2 separate regions of the Homo sapiens genome follow, and region 1 is linked to region 2. The links are contacts of gene promoters, found by promoter capture Hi-C in human tissues and cell types (Jung and others, 2019). All regions are on one chromosome and are shown on one strand. The core of a region is centred on a gene start or on the middle of the fragment in contact, and the rest is flanking DNA. Distances in the headings are between cores, read along the strand shown.

Region 1 (6,683 bases), core at 4,151-6,650, 110 kb before region 2:
GGCCCCGGAGGTCGTGGCTCGGGAGCAGGGAGGCGTAGGGGGGCCGGCCTGCTGTGATGACATTCCAATTAAAGCACGTGTTAGACTGCTGACGCGGGTGATGCGAACTGGAGTCTGAGCCTGCCCGAGCGGAGCTGGGAGGGGGCTGGCGGGCGGGCGCGCGCACACCCGCTGATCTATCACTCTCGTTCTTGTAGCTCCCAGCCGAGGACGTCGGATGTCATCGTCCTTGCTGCTTTGCCACCCCATTCCCGTCAATAAAGTGGTTTGAACCCAACCCTGGTGTCGGTGTGTGTCGTTGGCGACGCGCTGTCTTTGAGCCCCCGCCGAGCTTCCTCGTGGCGCCGGGGGTCAATCTGCAGCGCTAGAGCATGTGCTTGCGCATAACTGGGGCCGCCTGGCCTCCCGCGGGCGGCCTTTTTAACCGCGAGCGACAAGAAGTAACCTGACTGTCCGGCTGCTAGGCTGGGCAATTTTCCAGCTGTTTTGCCACGACAGGCCTCAATCCGTAATACCAAGGCTGGAATGGCGTGTTAGGGGGGCGGTGGCTGACGGGGATACGCGGACTCTTGATGCGTAAGGAGTGCCCCTCTGCTCCCATACGTTCCCCAGCCCAGCCTTCCCTGAGTGTATCGCGCGCGCTGTGCCTTCGCCGTGAGTTCGACATAAGTCCCAGGCTGTCGCGTCTGCCATCAGACGCGCAGATTTAGTTGAAGGCAGCGTGGAATGGCGTCTGCAGGGCTGTTGTGTACTTGACATAAACAGATTCGGTGTGGAACTGCATTGAGTTAACTCCTGACTAAAGGGTAATCGACCTGTTTACAAATAACCATGCAGGAGTACTGACAAGCATGGGACTAAAGCTTTGGGCAGGTTAATCTGTCACTCCTAAACAGTTCAAAATTATAGGGCGGTTGTGAAGGTGAATTAGATTTTATATATGGTTGGGGACAACATAGACACCTAGTTACACAGTCCAGATTCAGTGATTGGTAAAAGATCTTCCACAAGGGCTCCAGTGAAAGGTGCATCAGTTCTGAGTACAGGGCAGCAATGGTGGGCAAGGATGCACGTATGCGTTCACTACATGGACATTCGATGAATGAAGGTGTCCCGAATTAACATTATACTAGACAATGAAGGGTGTAAACTGCAGCCCAGGAGCACCACTGCCCTACCCCCTCAGTTACGAACTTTCACTGGATTCTTTAAATGTGGGCTGAAGATAATGGCACATAGTTTGAAGGATGTAGTGAGGATGGCTTTGTAGCCTTAGGACTGGGCAGTGATCAACGCAGTAAATGAAAGCTGCGATTGCCAGGTGAGGGCCCCGGTGCTCTGTACTCATTTTATTGTGCCCCTATCTGAACAGGATTCCGTAGAAATGACTTAGATGCTTATCTAGTATTTGACATTGAGATATTTATTTTGTGAAACAATGCAAGCGATTTTAAATCCCCACATACTATTTGATTAAGTGCAACATGGTACAGTCATGTGTAATCTCTTTACACGATAGTGCATCTAGTCCTTAGCCTTTAGTTATTGCACAACAATTATAAAGACCAGTGACCAGGACACGTGGACTCTGACAGGCAGATCGGCCTACACAACGAAAAATCAGAACAGTACACCAACTGGAATGGTCAAACAATTTAAGTCAAATGTTTTAATGGTGCAATTAAAATAAGGGTTCAAACATGTTTTCAATATATTAATTTCTTTAAAGTCATGTTCAGGCAAGGTGCTGTTTAAAAAACCACTATTAGCTTTGTCCACACATGTAAGTTATCAAAAGTTACCCAAGGTAATTTTGACGTTGAATGCAGCTTTAAACAATAAAAAAATGGTATTAGGTTTACTTCTCGAAGCAAAGAGAGCCCCCAACCTTGTAAACTAAACATTCTGACACAAATGCACAAAATTAAGTTGGCAACATTAATTTTGAGATGTAGTGTGATGCTGAGCAAACTTTTGGTCTTGACTCTTGAAATAATTAAAGAGAGCAGTTCTCCGTTTTGGCCTTCAGGAAGGGAAATCTGCCCATGGAACTCTCCCAATCAGATTAACAAACTGTTTCGATTCCCATATAAACCTGGAGGACACAGGAAACGCCAGATGGAAAAACTGGCTCTGGCTTTCTAACCCCATCCCATCTGTATGAGAGGACCCATCCTGTCATGTGCAGTGTTTGATGTTTTCACATACGCTCCTGTCTCAGGAAAACATTCAAGATTAGCTAGCCCCCAGGTGGTTGTACCTCATTGGTGAAAGGCTTGGGATGGTTTGATCTCATGGCTTTGCCTGATGTTCACATAAATCCCACTGTCCTTACCCAAGCTGATAGCGTGTTGTGTGTGTACTATGGCTACTTGCTTCCCAAATGCACAATTTAATGTGGAAAATAAGTTGCTCTGCCCATCTCTTCTGTCACCGAAATGAAAAGGCTCACAGAATTCCTCTCCCCACCCTCCAGACACATTGCACACTGACATTCTCTGGAAGTGTGGAAGGCCGCATACAAAGTATAGAAGTGAAAAAGTCCACTGTGCACCGGCTGCCTGAAGAAAAGCTTTGGAGGAGTAGAGGAGGCAAGTTGTTCAGCTTTGCTCTTACTGTGCTCATTTGCTGCCACAAACATGGGTAGACTTTTAAAAGCCATGGTGTGGGTCACGTATAACTTCTGGATCCACCATGATTCTTCCATGGTCTCCTTTGCCAAATCAAAGCTTTGCAGCAGGCAATCCAGACAGTTGTCACTAGATGCAGGGAATGACACCTCACAGTGGAATGGGCACTGGCAGGCAGAGGGCAGAAGCAGTCCTTTAAGAAACAGTAGCTGTGGCACAGAGGCCAGTGCTACAGTACAGATGGCGGCCAAGAACCCCACACATCCAGCTCGATGTCACAATATGGGGAACATCTGACATCACCCATCATGGCTGATCAGCAGCCTCCACAGGTGGGTCTTTCAGGAGGCAGGAAGTAGAGCGAGGGTCCATGGCTGAGTGCATTATAGTGATATAAACATCATCCATGTTTGGCATGACAAAAACTTTCTGTAGGAAGATATTAAAGAACAGCTATGTGGAAGAATGCCTTGCCAGGCTGTCACCCTCCTTTGTTCTGATAATTTTAGGGCTTAGACTGATTTTTAAAAGTACATATAAAAACTTGCTATGCATTCCAAACTAATTCTCCCACCATACATACTTTAGAAAGAGTTGAGGAATCATACCAGCGCATGGATACGAGAATCCTCTAATATATCAGCTCGGAGGCAGAAGTGGCCTTTGATTTTGTATACATATAATAAGGTTGCCCATATGCACTGATATATATCCAACAATTTAAGAGAATTGGCTTAAGCTGTTCACAGTAGTTCCCAGTTACTATGTCTAGAACACATATTCCATGTGAATTATCCTTTTATTAATAAATCCTAGCGATAAAATGTAAGCTAATGGCCAGGTGCGATGGTTCACGCCTGTAATCCCAGTACTTTGGGAGGCCAAGGCAGGCAGATCATCTGAGGTCCAGAGTTCAAGACCAGCCTGGCCAACATGGTGAAACCCTGTCTCAACTAAAAATACCAAAAAATTAGGCCAGGCATGGTAGCTCACACCTGTAATCCCAGCACTTTGGGAGGCCGAGGTGGGCAGATCACGAGGTTAGGAGATCGAGACCATCCTGGCTAATACAGTGAAACCCCCATCTCTACTAAAAATACAAAAAATTAGCTGGGTGTGGTGGCGGGTGCCTGTAGTCCCAGCTACTCGGGAGGCTGAGGCATGAGAATGGTGTGAACCTGGGGGACGGAGTTTGCAGTGAGCCGAGATGGCGCCATTGCACTCCAGCCTGGGCGACACAGCAAGACTCTGTCTTAAAAAAAAAAAAAAAAAAAAGAAAGAAAAAGGGAAAAATAAAAGGCATGATGTTCTTTCCCCTCAGTAGGTTCAAAGTACTTTTCTATTTGGTGATGACATTAAGCTTTTTCAGAAATTGGTTATCAGTTATGTTTAATCTCTAGTTTTTAAATAAGAGGATTTTTTTAAGGCAGTAACTCAAAATATACCACTGCAAAAAGAATGTAGGTCTTCTTCAAAAGGTGAATTTCATTAAAAGTAAATAGTTTGCTAATCCATAAAACCCCGACAGACAACTGTGCTTCAAATATCTGATAAAAGTTTGATGGAAATAGCTCATCCTAGGGCCTCAGCTATACTGCTATTACCTTTGGTGGCCAAATGCAGAAAGAAAAGCTGAGAGAGTAAGCTCTGGCTTAATGAACTCCCAGACTACACTAGAAGCTACCCAGGGGAGGGAGAGGCCAGATTCATCTTTGGACTCCCAGGGCAGGTGGTACCTGGCACACAGAAGGGTTTCCAGGAATGTTTGTTGAACTGAACAAACTGAGCAAGGTGAACAGCACACAAGAACAGGGGGCAGCCTCCCTGCCCACAGGCCGGGTGCTAAGAGTTGGGCAAGGCCAGGCCTTGCATAAGAGAAAACAAAGCCTGACAGTCCTGGCAGGCTTGCTGGGAAAAGACATCATCATTTTGCTCTGACCCAAATCTTTTGGGTTTCCTCTGAAGATGACTTAGTAATGTTCTGTGGATAAGTTTCAGGGCTTTGATACTGTACCTGAAGTTTTATTCCCATATTTGATCAAATGTAATACTCTTCCGGGATGAAGGTCACCATCAGATTTTCAAAAGAGGATCCTGACCCAGCTGAAGTTCAGAACCTCGGCTAAACCCAGAGCTTCTATACTTGGTGTGAAATACTAGATAACACTAGAGGTTTACCTGAAACTCTTGCTCCAGTTTCTTCTCTATCCAGTCTGTCACATGAACTAAAGTCACTTCTCTCTCTCCAAGTTTTGGCCGAGCTTTCAGCTCCACATGTGGTGGCTTTCGGAAACCATACCTTTTTGAAGACAAGTAATAACCACATTTAGAAGCAAAGCAAGGAATGAGACAGGCACTGACAGCAAACAGTTCTCATTTACATGGGGCTTTATCACTACTTAAAATGTTATTTTCTTCTGAAAATGCCCTCTAAAAATATTCCACACACAAAGTATGAATTGTGAACCCCCTGTGTTCCCTGGATGGTGTTAGGGCTGTGGCGGATTTAGAACAGTTCTGACAAACTGAGAGAGCCAGGAAGCACCACTGGAAAAGTCCATGACCTGGGCATTGGTTTCTGTTTTTTTCTAAAATGGCAATAACCTTTTTTCTTTCAATTTTTATAAAAGTAGTATATGTACATTACAAAAACAAAACATACATACAAGCAGATAAAGCAGAGAGTGAAAGACACACTGCCTCTCTCTGAATGTCATCCCCAAGAGAGGACTATTGACAGAAGTAGGGTGAACTCCCCTTACATTCTCCTGTGCATATGTCGATCAATAAGGTTTGAAACCTGTTTTTTCATCCTACACCCCAACAATACGCTTTGTATGACTTCCCGAGGGAGCAGACTGGCAATCAGAACTGTTGGCAAAGTATCCAGACAAGACCCTGTATGCTATCAACTATCTAAAACCTTAAATCTGTCCTGGACCAGTGCTTTTGGAAATACAGTAAAAATGTCAAGTTGCCATAAATATTTCTAAACACTCTATACTTATCTTTATGGATCAATAACACATAGTTCAGCATTTGAGCATGCCTTGGGTAGCACTATCCTAGAGCCCTTTTATTTTATCTCCCCCTGAGCAGAGGCATTTAAAACTGATAAATCTAAAGAATTGGCAGTAAGGAGAAGAAATGTATCAATTTTAACTATTAAAATTTTTTTAAGGTTTGAAAGACCATACAATATATTAACAGTGGTTATTTCTGGATGGTGAGATTATGGGTTTTTATTTATTTATCTATTTTTCACCTTTTCCCAATCTTTCTCTTTTTTTTAACAATGAAAATATTACTTTAAAAAAGTATAAAAAGGCATTTTAAAGTTTTATTGGGAAATACCAGCATTATCGTTAAATGGTTAGTCAATTCAAAACCCCTCTTCTGATCATTCCTACAAATCCTTCTGAATACCGATGGTATGTACTAGCATGTTGGTTTTACTCTATGATAGAACAGAGCTATATTTTTGTTATGAGTGTAGTTTATGGTACAATGAGATCTCTTATGCAATCACTATTTACACTTATGCCCATTTTTATAGGACTTAGCATGTCAATTTTAAATTGAGATTCACAGGCAGTGATGCTGAACTCATCAGTAATTTATTTCAGTGACTCTCAACCCTGGCTTCATCACCCCCGACCCCTGAAATCCGGGGGGATGGGCCAGGCATAGCTATATTTTTAGCAAGTCCCCAGGTGATTTTAACATGCAGCTGGGGCTGAGAATCCAGTCCTCAGACACCAAATGCACATGCTCCTGACTCCTCAGCATTGAGGCCTAACTCAGGGAAGTCTCCCTAACTTCCCAGACTCTGTTGGATGTGTGATCCCCATCTTTAAAGTAGGGATAACAATGGCATCTACCTCAACAGGATGCTATGAGGACTAATCAGGTAATGCAATTACAACCAGGGCCAGGCAGAGAATAAAGGCGCTATCTACAAATGACAGCTGTTATTACTGGCAGAACAGTTGGCTTTACAGAGGAGGAAGACCAATAATAGAAACAGCTTATCTCATAAACTTCATGTATTGA
Region 2 (5,701 bases), core at 114-2,613:
AGACAAGCGTCTCTGTGTGACCCAGCCCTAAAACTCACAAACCTAGACTCCTCAAACTCCCCATACTCCAGAGTTCAAGGATAACCTGCCCTCCATTTTTCCTTATTGTTTTCCATATAAAAGTCACTCGTTGTTTCCCCTCCAGCTTACACCTGGCTCCTGAAATGACTCCTCTGAATCCTCTGAGAATCCTCAAAACATGTAAAAGCCTCATTCCTTTTAATGCATGTGCAGAGCGGTGATGGTGTGAAGACGCTGGCACTTCAAACGTGAACGTGGCACGAGCCCTGCCCTCAAGGAGCCCACAATTTTCCCTCAACTCTAAAAAAGGATGTCCTCCCTGGACAGTGTCTGTAAAACACAGTGACAAAGTACTTCATAGCTCTGGAGAAAGAGCGAGGGTGGAAACAGACTTTGCCCTTACATTTGACGCCCAGTAACCATAACAACCGATGGTTTAAGTAACTATCAACCCACTGAGGGGCTAAGTTTTCCAAAAATCGTTTTCAAAAGGGGAAGACTCCCCTGCACCAACTCCCATGGCAGCCGTACGCTCTAGGCAGCGTGTGGTGCAATGTGGCCAGCCGTTCCCCGCCTTCTCCGGTTCCACCGTATGGTTTCCGTGCTCAGCAGCCAGCAGCGACGGCGTCCACGGCCACACCGCCTCCCCGCAAGGCACCTGGCGCTAGGCCTCAGCCCAATGTCACTTGTTAACCTTCCGATCCCCCGGATTTCGGCACGCCGCCGCCTCCCTGCTAAAGCACACAAACCACCCCACCGCCACCCGCGTTCTCCAGGAGTTGGAGAAAAACCACCGGGGCGCATACAACCTCTGACAGATTCGAGTAAAAGTAACTGCGGTTCTCGACTTTCAAGCATTTCGCGTCGCCGGTGAGGGGGGCGGCAGGAACCCGGGGCCCCATTCATAAAATTGCAAGCCGTTTTCCTCTAGTTTGCGCGTGACGGTGCCTCCCTGCCCGGGGCCGGGGACCGCAGGCTGAGGGGACGGGGCCGGCAGCTCCTCCCGCCGGAGTCGAGCCCGAGCCATCCGGCGGGGCCCCGAAGGAAGGGATTGCCCGGGGGTGTCGCGGGTGGGCGTCCCCTTCAATACCTGAACCATGACAGCGGGGTGGGGGGCCGAGCCCCGCCACGCCAAGGGCCGCCGGACCCGACCGGTACTTTGAAGCCCGCGGGGTCGATCCGCGCCCAGCCCGGGCCTTATCCGCGGGGCGCTCCCTCCACCGCCCCCGCCTGGCCCTGAGACTGCTCACCCAAGATCCGCTGGCTGCCTCATTGTACTATGCCGGCGCCCGTGCTCCCGGCCGCGCGACTCCGGCTTCGGCTGGGGCACCGGCCGCGGTCCTGCTGCCCTGCCGCCCGCCCGCCCCCGGGCACACGCCGCCCCGCCCCGCCGGCGGACCCGCCCCGCGCCCGCGGCCGCCGCCGCCAACCAGAGGGCGCGGGGGCGGAGCAAACGGCACGCCAGGCCCAACCAATCCAGTTCTACCGCGCGCCGAGGTGAGGCCGCGGAAATGGGGGAGCGATTTGTCAGGTCTGTTAAAGGGGCCACCGCCCTTGGAGCTAGGGAGAGGAGTGGTGGGGAGGGTTACCTGGAAGAGCCCCAGGTGAGGGGGACAAAAGCTTCACTCTCCCAACGGGGCTGCACACTGTCCCCAGCTCTTTGCACTTCTTAATTTCCTCTTCCTGCAGTCTAGCAGCAACAAGTGCCCTTGAGACGAGGGCTGGGGGTTGAGGTGGGGTGACTGAGGCGCGGAGAACCAGGGGTATCCCCCTGGGCAAATTCACTCGATTTGCATTTTAGAGGGCCATCAGACGTATCTATCCCCATCCAACTGCAGACATTGATTTAAAAAGGCAAATTCCCAGTTTCCCGCATTATGTACTTCCCCCACCTGACTACCACACTACCACATCCTATCCTGAACTAACTCTGTTACTAGTTTTTTTGTTTGAGACGGAGTCTCGCTCTGTCGCCAGGCTGGAGTGCAGTGCCGTCATCTGGGCTCACTGCAACCTCCGCCTCCTGGGTTAAAGCGATTCTCCTGCCTCAGCCTTCCGAGTAGCTGGGATTACAGGCGCGTGCCACCATGCCCAGCTAATTTTTGTATTTTTAGTAGAGACGGGGTTTCACCATGTTGGCCAGGATGGTCTCGGTCTCTTGACCTCGTGATCCGCCGGACCCAGCCTCCCAAAGTACTGGGATTACAGGCGTGAGCCACCGCGCCTGGCCACGAGTTCTTAGAGCTTAGAACTTATATAGTATTAACTACTCATTTTTAGAGAGGCAATATCTGAGGCTCAGAGAGGTAAAGTGACTTCTCGAGGTAAATTCTCACTTAGAATGAGCTTCCTGGGATGGCAATGCCCATTGTGCATTTATCTTCTGCGAACCTGGGTTGGCTGGCAGAAGCACTGGCACATAGGGAGAGTTCCCCCTTCCCCCGTAGTCCTTGCCCCTCTGCACTTCCCACCCACCACAAGAAAGGACCAAGACAACAAACAGATGTGTCAGTGTGTCTCCTGCATTAGTGGGTCCCAAATGTCAGATCTTCAACGTCAGATCATCCTGGAGGGTTTTAACATGAAGATCTCTAAGTCCCACCCCAGAACCTGTAATTCAGTAAGTCTGAGATGGCCTTCGACACCCCTCCCTCCAGGTGATTCTAATGCAAGTGGTACAAGGACCACACTCAGGTGCGTGTTTTGAGTCTATCATAGTCATGAAATTCAAATTCAATTGGCAAAATGAAAGCCAAACTCCTTTCATCCTCAGAATTAGTAATATGGTTGGGAGACTTGCTAGTAAGGGAGGAGGTCACCTACTAAGACACTCATAACAGAATAAGTCATGCCAAGAACTGAGTGTAGAAGGGCACTGGACCCAGATGAAACAACATCTGAAAGATTGAAATCCTCAAGCAGGAAGAAGATTTGATGCCTCAAGCAGAGGGAAGCCAGGCTAGTTCTCTGACCCGTGAGACAGTGCATAAATATCTTAATGGCAGACACACTCCGGCTCACCACCAGGCCCAGTCATGATCCCAGAAGAATGCCCTGCTACTCTGGTGCCTCATTCCAATGCCAGCAAGCCCTGCCTACCCTCCTGGCAACATTCCTCTCCCCTTCCTAGTATCCCAGACACCTGCCTGACCCAGAAGTCATTGTCCTCAGACTTGGAGGTCAGCCCTCGCCCACTAGATCTTGCAGGTCAGCTGCCTCCCACACAGATCTCAGGCTCTTGGAATGGCCTCCACACAATAACCCTGTTTGTGCTGTGATTTCTGATGGATGTTGTGTTGCCAGGGACAACTCTGCACAAGGATTGATCAGCCTCATGAGAATGCAGTCTCTGGGCTGCAGGCATTACTGCCTGGGATCACCACTTGCTTCTGTTGCCCTTCCCAAAGGAAAAAGAATTCATGTCCCAACAGAAGAGGTTTCCAGTTGTGGTTTTCTGGAAATGTGCAACAAAGGCAGTTACCAATGGAGACACAGCCTGAAGCTCTCCTTGGCCACATCTTCAGCCCCCTGCCTCAGGGAGAGAGAGAGAGAAAGGGTAGGGGCCCTGGAGCTGCCCCTTGCAAAGGTCCTTGGAAGCTGGCAATGTGCCTCTCAGAGTGCCCACCAACCTCCTTTCCCTACCAAGCTCCACGTAAGCATTAAATTAATTAATACACTACCAACCAGATCTCAAACTAGAAGCCAGTAAGATCCAGCATGAACACTTAGAAGGATCCCTTCTTTTTGAAATCTGAGGAATTTGGATGCATTGAAAAATAAATGAACATATCATAACACAATAATGTTTCCTACCTTTTTTTTTTTTTTTTTTTTTGAGATGGAGTCAGCCTCTGTCATGTTGCCCAGGCGGGAGTGCAGTGGCGTGACCTTGGCTCACTGCAACCCCCGCTCAGGAGGAGAGCCCAAGAGTTTGAGACCATGTTGTCCAGGCTGGTCTCAAACTCCTGGTTTCAAGCAATTCTCCTGCCTCAGCCTCCCTGAGTAGCTGGGACTACAGGCACACGCCACCACACCTGGCTAATTTTTTTTATTTTTATTTTTAGTAGATACAAGGTTTCACCATGTTGGCCAGGCTGGTCTTGAACTCTTGAGCTCAGGTGATCTGCCCACCTCAGCCTCGGCCTCCCAAAGTCCTGGGATTACAGGTGTGAGCCACTGCGCCTGGCCTGTTTCCTACCTATTAAGAGGTTACTATGTGCCAGGTACTATGCCAAGTCCCTGGAACATAGCAGTTCACTGAAACCTTACAGTAACTCTTTAGGGTAGATATGACCATTATTTTCTCCTTTTTATGGATGCAGAAACTGAAGTTCACAGATTAGTGATGTGTCCAGGATAGCAGGGCTAGTTGAAGGAAGAGCCAGCATTCATGACCGTAACCACCAGGCTTTTTTGAGATGGGGTCTTGCCATGTTGCCAGGGCTGGTCTCAAACTCCTGGGTGCAAGCGATCCTCTTGCCTCAACCTCTCCCAAACTGCTGAGATTACAGGCGTGAGCCACTGTGCCTGGCTCAAATCATGCTTAAAAGAGTGATTTTAGAGCTTGGCATCTGTGACTCATTGTAGTACCTCTGAAAAAGGTTAGGGATTGTGAGGCTAAATTCAGATATCAAGCAAGATTCCTTACTTTGTCCCCCAGATAGCTACTCTATATGTATAGCATGTACCAAGTGATCTAAATTTTTTCACCTAGAGTAGGATCTTAAGTCACAGAAATGCAAGCCCAAGCTAATACTCTCCCCTCTTTCTCTACCCCCAACCCCTCAACCCTCATGCCAGGCTCTCTTGAAACCCAGGTTTCAACTATCAGGTTAAGCCCACATAGGTTCTGATATACTTGAAAGATTCCCAATTATTGCATTTCAAGATAATCCCTATTTTCTCACCAATTTCTAAACAAACCAAAAAATGCTCTAAGATTTTATTTTTTGTTTTGAAACAGGGTCTTTCTCCGTCACCCAGGCTAGAGTGCACTGGCACACTCATGGCTCACTGCAGCCTTGACCTCCTGGGTTCCAGTGATCCTCCCACCTCAGCCTCCTGAGTAGCTGGGACTACAGGCATGCGCCACCATGCCTGGCTAATTTCTTTCTACTTTTTGTAGAGATGAGGTCTTGCTGTGTTGTCCCAGGCTGGTCATGAACCCTTGGGCTCAAATGATCCTCCTGCCTCGGTATCCCAAAGTGCTGGGATTAGGCATGAGCCAGTATGCCCAGCCTAAGATTTTTAATTCTGTTTTTGACATTGCATTCTTGGAGACAGAAATGGTTAAGAAGTACAGAAAACCAAAAAGTTGATCCACTTGTATATCTAACAAAGATTAGGGATCATCATGCCACAAGCCACACCATTAATGAGCAATCACTGTGCACTCAGTACCAGGTGGCGGGCTGAGTACTGGGGATAGAGATGAAGGCACTTGTAGATGCTAGATCTAGTAGAGAAACTGACACGTTGATAGACCATTATAGGCTTCCTTAGAGGGAAGCCCAGGAGCCGTGGGGACACAGAATAGGCACTTAGAACCCTTGGGGAACCCAATAATGTTTTTAGGGGTGGCCAGATGAAGTTCATTATGAAGAGAAGCCAGAAAGTTTACAAAAACCCAAGTAAGAGTCACCAAACCCAAGGGAGAAGAGATTGAAAGAGAGAGCAGTCA

The links. Contacts are between HindIII fragments. The study calls those that stand out against the background at their distance.
Region 1: a fragment that was not itself captured here is called in contact with the fragment with the promoter of TEX2 in region 2 in 10 of the 25 tissues and cell types used here (H1 embryonic stem cells, IMR-90 fibroblasts, aorta and 7 more).

What each region holds. Positions count from the first base shown.
Region 1 is chr17:64,146,033-64,152,715 of GRCh38, forward strand. It overlaps TEX2 (testis expressed 2), which reads right to left. Exons shown (of 12, transcript NM_001288732.2): 11 at 4,809-4,929; 12 at 1,195-3,059. The coding sequence ends at 2,937. It overlaps SNHG25 (small nucleolar RNA host gene 25), which reads left to right. Exons shown (of 2, transcript NR_132278.1): 2 at 198-277. SNORD104 (small nucleolar RNA, C/D box 104) reads left to right here and starts at 46; the gene lies at 46-125. It overlaps SNORA50C (small nucleolar RNA, H/ACA box 50C), which reads left to right and starts at 307; the gene lies at 307-439. RefSeq lists enhancers at 1-179, 157-366. The HindIII fragment of the contact is 7,367 bases long and covers 1,718-6,683 here.
Region 2 is chr17:64,261,897-64,267,597 of GRCh38, forward strand. TEX2 (testis expressed 2) reads right to left here and starts at 1,364. Exons shown (of 12, transcript NM_001288732.2): 1 at 1,272-1,364. RefSeq lists a silencer at 952-1,561. The HindIII fragment of the contact is 9,945 bases long and covers 1-4,769 here.